Regions from separate parts of the Homo sapiens genome. Here region 2 is linked to region 1. Evidence: promoter capture Hi-C in 16 types of primary human blood cells and fetal thymus (Javierre and others, 2016). All regions are on one chromosome and are shown on one strand. Each heading gives the region's core, a stretch centred on a gene start or on the middle of the fragment in contact. The rest is flanking DNA. Distances are from core to core; before and after follow the strand shown.

Region 1 (2,930 bases), core at 285-2,784:
CGAACTCCAGAACACTGGTTTTACCTTTGACTCAGTTCAAATCAAACAATCCAAAAGTTTTTTGAGACTTATACCCCATTATCATCCTTTTTTTCCCCCCTCAGGGGTACTAAGAAAAGGGGTAGTGAGAACAGGGTACTAACAACAAGGATACTGAGAACAAAGTATATTAAGTATTGGGGTAGTGAGAACATGAGAACAAGGGACTAAACATAGGGGTACTGGGAACAGAGTTGTAAGAAAAGAGTACTACGTACAGGGGTACTACAGACAGGCAACTGAGTATAGCAGTACTAAAAATACGGTACTAGGAAGAGGGTTAACAGAACAGGACACTAAAAACAAAGTACTAAATACAGGAGTATTACAAATAGAGGTACTGAGAACTGGGTACTGAGAACTGGATACTGAGAATAGAGTAGTGAAAACAGAAAGAGATGACTTTCTCAGAAGTACCAACTTCATCTAGGTTCCTAAGTCTCCTTTAGCGATGAACCAGACCGATCATTTACTCTATGTCCTTCCAGCCATATCCCAGATCTATGACAGCTCTGCCGATGTCACATTATTTTTACTGAAATTTCTGCACCTATCATGAGTTCAACAGAACTGTTATTGCTTTGCACATGTTGGTATAAACTTTAATTTAGGGCAAACACTCTAATTCTCAACCACTAACCCAGTCACTGCAAACCGGCCCATTTGGAAGTGGGGAGGCAGGCCCTGCAGATGCGGTTTGCGTTAAGATCGGGTTTCTTCTTCCACCTCCCATCCCCAGGCCTCAGCTAAGTCTGATACCTCGAGTTTGACGTTTCCCGCGCTGCCAGTCGAGGCAGTCCCACCGCAGTTCAGGGCCTGGTCGCTCTTCTTCTTTTTATACTTGTCCTTGTACATCTTGTTGCGGTGTTTCTTGCACATCCACGGTTTGCGCTGCTTGGCCACCTGGCTCGTGGTCTCGCTGCAGCCTTCGTAGGTGCAGGTCTTGCTCATGCTGCCCCCACCGCTGCCCCGCCTCCGGGCGCCCCCGCTGCTGCCCTCGCCCCCCGAGTGAGTCTCCTCGTCCTCTAGATCCTCCAAACTAGCCGCGCTCTCGCCTCCCCCCGGAGGGTCCGAAGTGTCTAACAGGTCCGCCTCGTCCTCCCCAGCCTCCTCTTCGCCATCCCCGGCCCCTTCGCACAGGTACCTAACGGGCTTGCCCGCCCCAACGCTGCCCCCGGGGGCCGCAGCCTCGTCCTGCCCAGCACAGGGTTGCATCACTAGCAGGGTGAATTGAGAGGCCGCGGCCGCCACCGAGGCTGGCGCCAAGGTGGGAGCCGCAGCCGGGGCTAGGGCCGCGGGGTGGGGCACGCCGCTGGCGGCGCCCGGCCCCGCGCCCTCCGCTACACCCTGCGCCTCCATGCTGCTAAGACCTGGCCGGGGTCCACGACCCCGGGCTTTTAGCACCTGCTTGGCCTAACGGCACTTCGCGAACCAAAGACTCAGGACACGCTGGGGTAAAAGGCGCCTATACCGGGAAGGCGCCCCGACTGCGCCTGCGCGACCGCAGCCTGCGCGTCAGCGTGTGTACGCCCGCGGGCTGTCAGGGAGCGCGGCGCCTCTGGGGGCGGGGCTGAGCGCACAACCAACGGGACTGACTGCGCATGTGCGGCCGCGGCCCCTTCGGCCAGCTGGGGGATTCGTAGACAGGGTCTGGGGGCTGTGTCAGGTGAAAACCTGCAGTGGCTGGCAAGGCAGCGCCGTTTTACCTGATCCTATTGTATCTAAAGCGGTTCAAAGTATCTTCTACAGGAGTTCCAGTATGCAAATTAGGATTGTTCCTGAGCGGTCTCACGACTTGTAGTGTTAGGATGCTAATTTTATTATTTCCCCCACAAACTGCCTGCAAGGGGAGATTTGAAGCTGGGATGCAGTGGTGTCACAGCCTAGAGTCACTAGCTCGCAGTCCATGAAGGCAGAGGTGGCTTATTTGAAAATAGTGGAGCGGAGAGGGATGGGCCACACCTTTGGCCGAGTTGTATTTGCATTGAGGGATAACTTTGTTTTTTTTCTCCTGGAAACTCACTTGATTGTTAGTACTTGCTCTTTGCTGTGGCTGCTGAGATAAGTCTTAACGTTTTCGTTTAACACAGTGAAAATGTGTGAAAAGGAATACTGAATGGCAAACGTTTAAAAAAACAATGAATGTTCTACCAGTTCTATCAGTTGCTGGGCAATTGCTGGTTGTTAAATCTTGGCTTGCCCAAATCCCAGGAGAGAAAATATCCTGCCGTATCCTGAACTGTTAAGTAGATGTTCTTTTTCCCTTCATCCTATTCTTTCGCCTAGTCAGATTTCCCATCCCACCTACCGGAAAGCAATGACTTTATTCAACAAACTATAAATCCATTCACACTAAGATGTTTGGGTGCTGACATATAGGTAGATCAGTTATGTTTTAAAGAGAGGCATATGGAAGGGAGAAGGTTTGGAATTAGAGCAACCTAGGTAGTACTTCCTGTGTGACTACAGCAAGTTCGTGACAGCCTCTCCGAGCCTCAGTTTCCTCATCAGTAAAGCCTGCAGTCGGTGGTGTGCTAGCGCCAACTGATGGTAACTGGTTGCTAAAATTTCAGGAATATAATTAGCAGAAAAATTAAACACTGCTATTATTAAAAGTCTTACTACATAAACTTACAATAAGATTATATTAAAAACAAAGGGTACAAATCTCAAAACTCTTCATTTTCTAATTATTTTATTATGTTTTATCATTATCTGTGCTTTTAAGGTTATTTATGTCTATTGTATCTGTATGCGGAAATATTATTTAGTGGTGTGTTACTGCACATTTTCCCAACTCTGCCTTCAGTATGTCATGTTGATTGCTTGAAATCAGCCACTTTTGGAGTATTTACACCAGGGAAATGATCAAATGCTACGAAGCAGGTTTA
Region 2 (3,038 bases), core at 536-3,035, 3.3 Mb after region 1:
GACAGCAACTAATAGAAAACTCACTCATTATCACTAGGAGGGCATCAAGCCCTGTGTCAGGGATCCACCCCCATGTCTGAAAACATCTCCCATTAAGCCCCACCTCCAACACTGGGGATCAAATTTCAACGTGAGATTTGGAGGGATCCAACAAACCAAATGATAGCAATAATGCTCCCAAAATACAGCAGGTATATGAAATATAGCATTACTAATGAAGTGTCCTTTACATCTTCTCTGCCTGCTTCATTAGTGAATTTATTACAATAAAGTTTAAAATAAGGCAAAGAACATTCACCTTTCGGGCCAGGCACAGTGGCTCACGCCTGTAATCCCAGCACTTTGGGAAGCCGAGGCAGGCGGATCACGAGGTCAGGAGATCGAGATCATCCTGGCTAACACGGTGAAACCCCGTCTCTACTAAAAATACAAAAAATTAGGCCAGGCGCGGTGGCTCACACCTGTAATCCCAGCACTTTGAGAGGCCAAGGCGGGTGGATCACCTGAGGTCAGGAATTCGAGACCAGCCTGACCAACATGGAGAAAACTGATCTCTACTAAGGAAAATACAAAATTTTAGCCAGGCATGGTGGCACATGCCTGTAATCCCAGCTACTCAGGAAGGCTGAGGCAGAAGACTCACTTGAACCTGGGAGCAGAGGTTGTGATGAGCTGAGATCGCACCATTGCACCCCAGCCTGGGCAACAAGAGCAAAACCCCGTCTCAAATAAATAAATAAATAAATAAAACAAAAAAATTAGCCAGGTGTGGTGGCACACGCCTGTAGTCCCAGCTACTCAGGAGGTTGAGGCAGGAGAATCGCTTGAACCCGGGAGGCAGAGATTGCAGTGAGCTGAAATCTGGCCACTGCACTCCAGCCTGGGCGACAGAGCAAGCCTCCATCTCAAAAAAAAAAAAAAAAAAAAAGAGAAAAAACAACAAAAAAACAAAACCATGCACCTTTCCCTGATTTAAATGATTCATCAGTAATTATCCAAATACATGGTACTAGCCTATTAGGGAAATACCATGGTTTTAAGACAGTTGTTCTCAATCTTTTTTTTCTTCTTTTCACGAAGGCCCATTCAGGCTAGAGCAGAGAGGGGGAAGCTTACATCCAGTAAACAAAATAGCAGTGATTTAAATAAAACTGAGACCAGAAAACCGACTGCTTTCTACATTTTAGGAACTGATTATCATAAACATAAACTTATCTAACAATATCTGTATTTCTATTTGTAGCAAGCACAAAAGTTACAGTGTGCAGCACACTTTAATCACTGCGTGATTTAATTACTGTGTCAATAAAGGCAGTGGCACAGTCAGAATTTGACAGAATTGAGAAAAGTCCTGCTGAAAAGATGAGACAAGTTCTGAGATGATCATTTTTTATAATGTAAGCACTGTGTACATTTATAAATGGCACGGTAGGGATGGGAGTGGGCTGGGGGTAGAGAATTCCGTAAAACAAGGGAACTTGAGGAAATGCAAAAGACTGAAAAAAACCTGGCATCTTCCAAAGGGTAAAATTAGTATGATTGTTTAAACTATTTTGTCCTTAATTTTAGTCATTTCTAATTTAACAGCTAAAGAACAATTACTGTATAATAACTGAAATATTTAGTATACTTGGTATTACAGCACCCTCTATCACATGATCATATACAGAATACATTTCTATGAACTGGTTGCTTTAATCTGTGAACATTTATGTAGCTCTCTACTGGTTCTAGGGTTTAGTTTACTACTTCCCATCCACGGAGTCAAAAGGACTACTAACTTGTGCAGGCTTAGTATCACCAGTATATTTTAGTACCGTCTGTCCTGCAACAGCAAAAAGCATTATTGACAAAGCAATCCTGAACTCTAAATTATTCCAGGTGTGGTCCTAGTACCAACAGCATCAGAATCACCTGAGATTTTACTAGAGCTACACTAATCCAGCTGTATCCTCAGACCTTCCCTCCCAGTTATAACCTCTGGTGTTGAGGCCCAGCAATCTGTTTTAACAAGCCTTCTAGAGAATCTGGATGCATGCTCCAGTTTGAGAAGCATTACTATAGGAGAAATACAATCAAAGAGTCAAGTTAACATGTGCTATCTAAACTCTAAAGGAAATTTGTTTCATTATATATTTTGATATCCACAGCACCATTCCAATAAAACATTTAGAACAACTCTGTTAGTACTCCAAGATTACAGGAAAAAAAGAACATTATTAAAGGAAAATGTGTTGATTTTACTAACTTTGGGGAAATTACTTTTCCTTTCTCTGATTATCTAAAAGAAACGTGACATGCAAACGAATCTACATTGAGCATTTCTGAGGCTACCTTTCTGAAACTTCCATGGCCTATTTTAAAGCAAATTACTACATTCTGCTTCTCGATGGGTTCCTAACATACACAGCAGGCTTTTACAACAGCGCTTTAATAGGCCAAAGGAAACAAAAGCTTTTACAGCAGAGGCCAATGTAAGCCACAAAGCTCGTGTCATCTTCCTACCAGGCAATTAATACAGGGTCCCAGTCCTCAAAGATTAAAGAACTGATACGGGGAAGACTGAGAATGACCCAGCAACAACGCATAAGGAAGCAAAAAATAAAAGGACGCCGTTTCTTCTGGACTTAAAACTAGAGAAAGAACAGTTTCCGCTCCATTTTGGGTTTGTAAAGCTCCTCCTACAGGCAGCTTCCGCTTCAGAGTCGCCACAAAGTCCCTCCCGCGCGGGAACTCGGCGGGGCGGAGACTCGGGTCCCTCCCCGTCCAGGGCGGGAGAAAGGAAAGCAGGGGCCACGGTTTCTCTGGAAGGTTCCGAGAGAAGGGCGCGTGCCACCTCCGCGGGTGGCGGGAGACTCGGCACCAGATGGCGCTGCCGCACCGAGAGCCAGAGCCTGGGCCGCTGGGGAGACGGGAAGAGGCGTCACCGGATCCCTTCCTTTGCGCTCGTTGCCGGAAATGTGCGCTGCAACCAGCCTCTGGTCCCGGATATTAAGACTTCTGGAGGGTTCCCGCGTGAGGGCGGGGCCAGAACCGGA

Evidence for each region. Contacts are between HindIII fragments. The CHiCAGO score rates a contact against its expected background, and 5 or more counts as called.
Region 2: a fragment that was not itself captured here is called in contact with the fragment with the promoter of RFXAP in region 1 in 2 of 17 cell types (non-activated CD4 T cells and total CD4 T cells); the score reaches 8.6 in non-activated CD4 T cells.

The regions. Positions count from the first base shown.
Region 1 is chr13:36,817,826-36,820,755 of GRCh38, reverse strand. RFXAP (regulatory factor X associated protein) reads right to left here and starts at 1,534. Exons shown (of 3, transcript NM_000538.4): 1 at 799-1,534. The coding sequence starts at 1,398. LOC124903158 (a long non-coding RNA gene) reads left to right here and starts at 1,685. Exons shown (of 2, transcript XR_007063760.1): 1 at 1,685-2,589. RefSeq lists enhancers at 727-956, 967-1,016 and a silencer at 1,247-1,616. The HindIII fragment of the contact is 8,641 bases long and covers 1-2,930 here.
Region 2 is chr13:33,542,661-33,545,698 of GRCh38, reverse strand. It overlaps a transcript of STARD13 not described here. Among named protein-coding and RNA genes, the nearest start is that of LINC02344, 210 kb to the right of the region's middle. RefSeq lists enhancers at 2,583-2,692, 2,793-2,892. The HindIII fragment of the contact is 1,343 bases long and covers 1,114-2,456 here.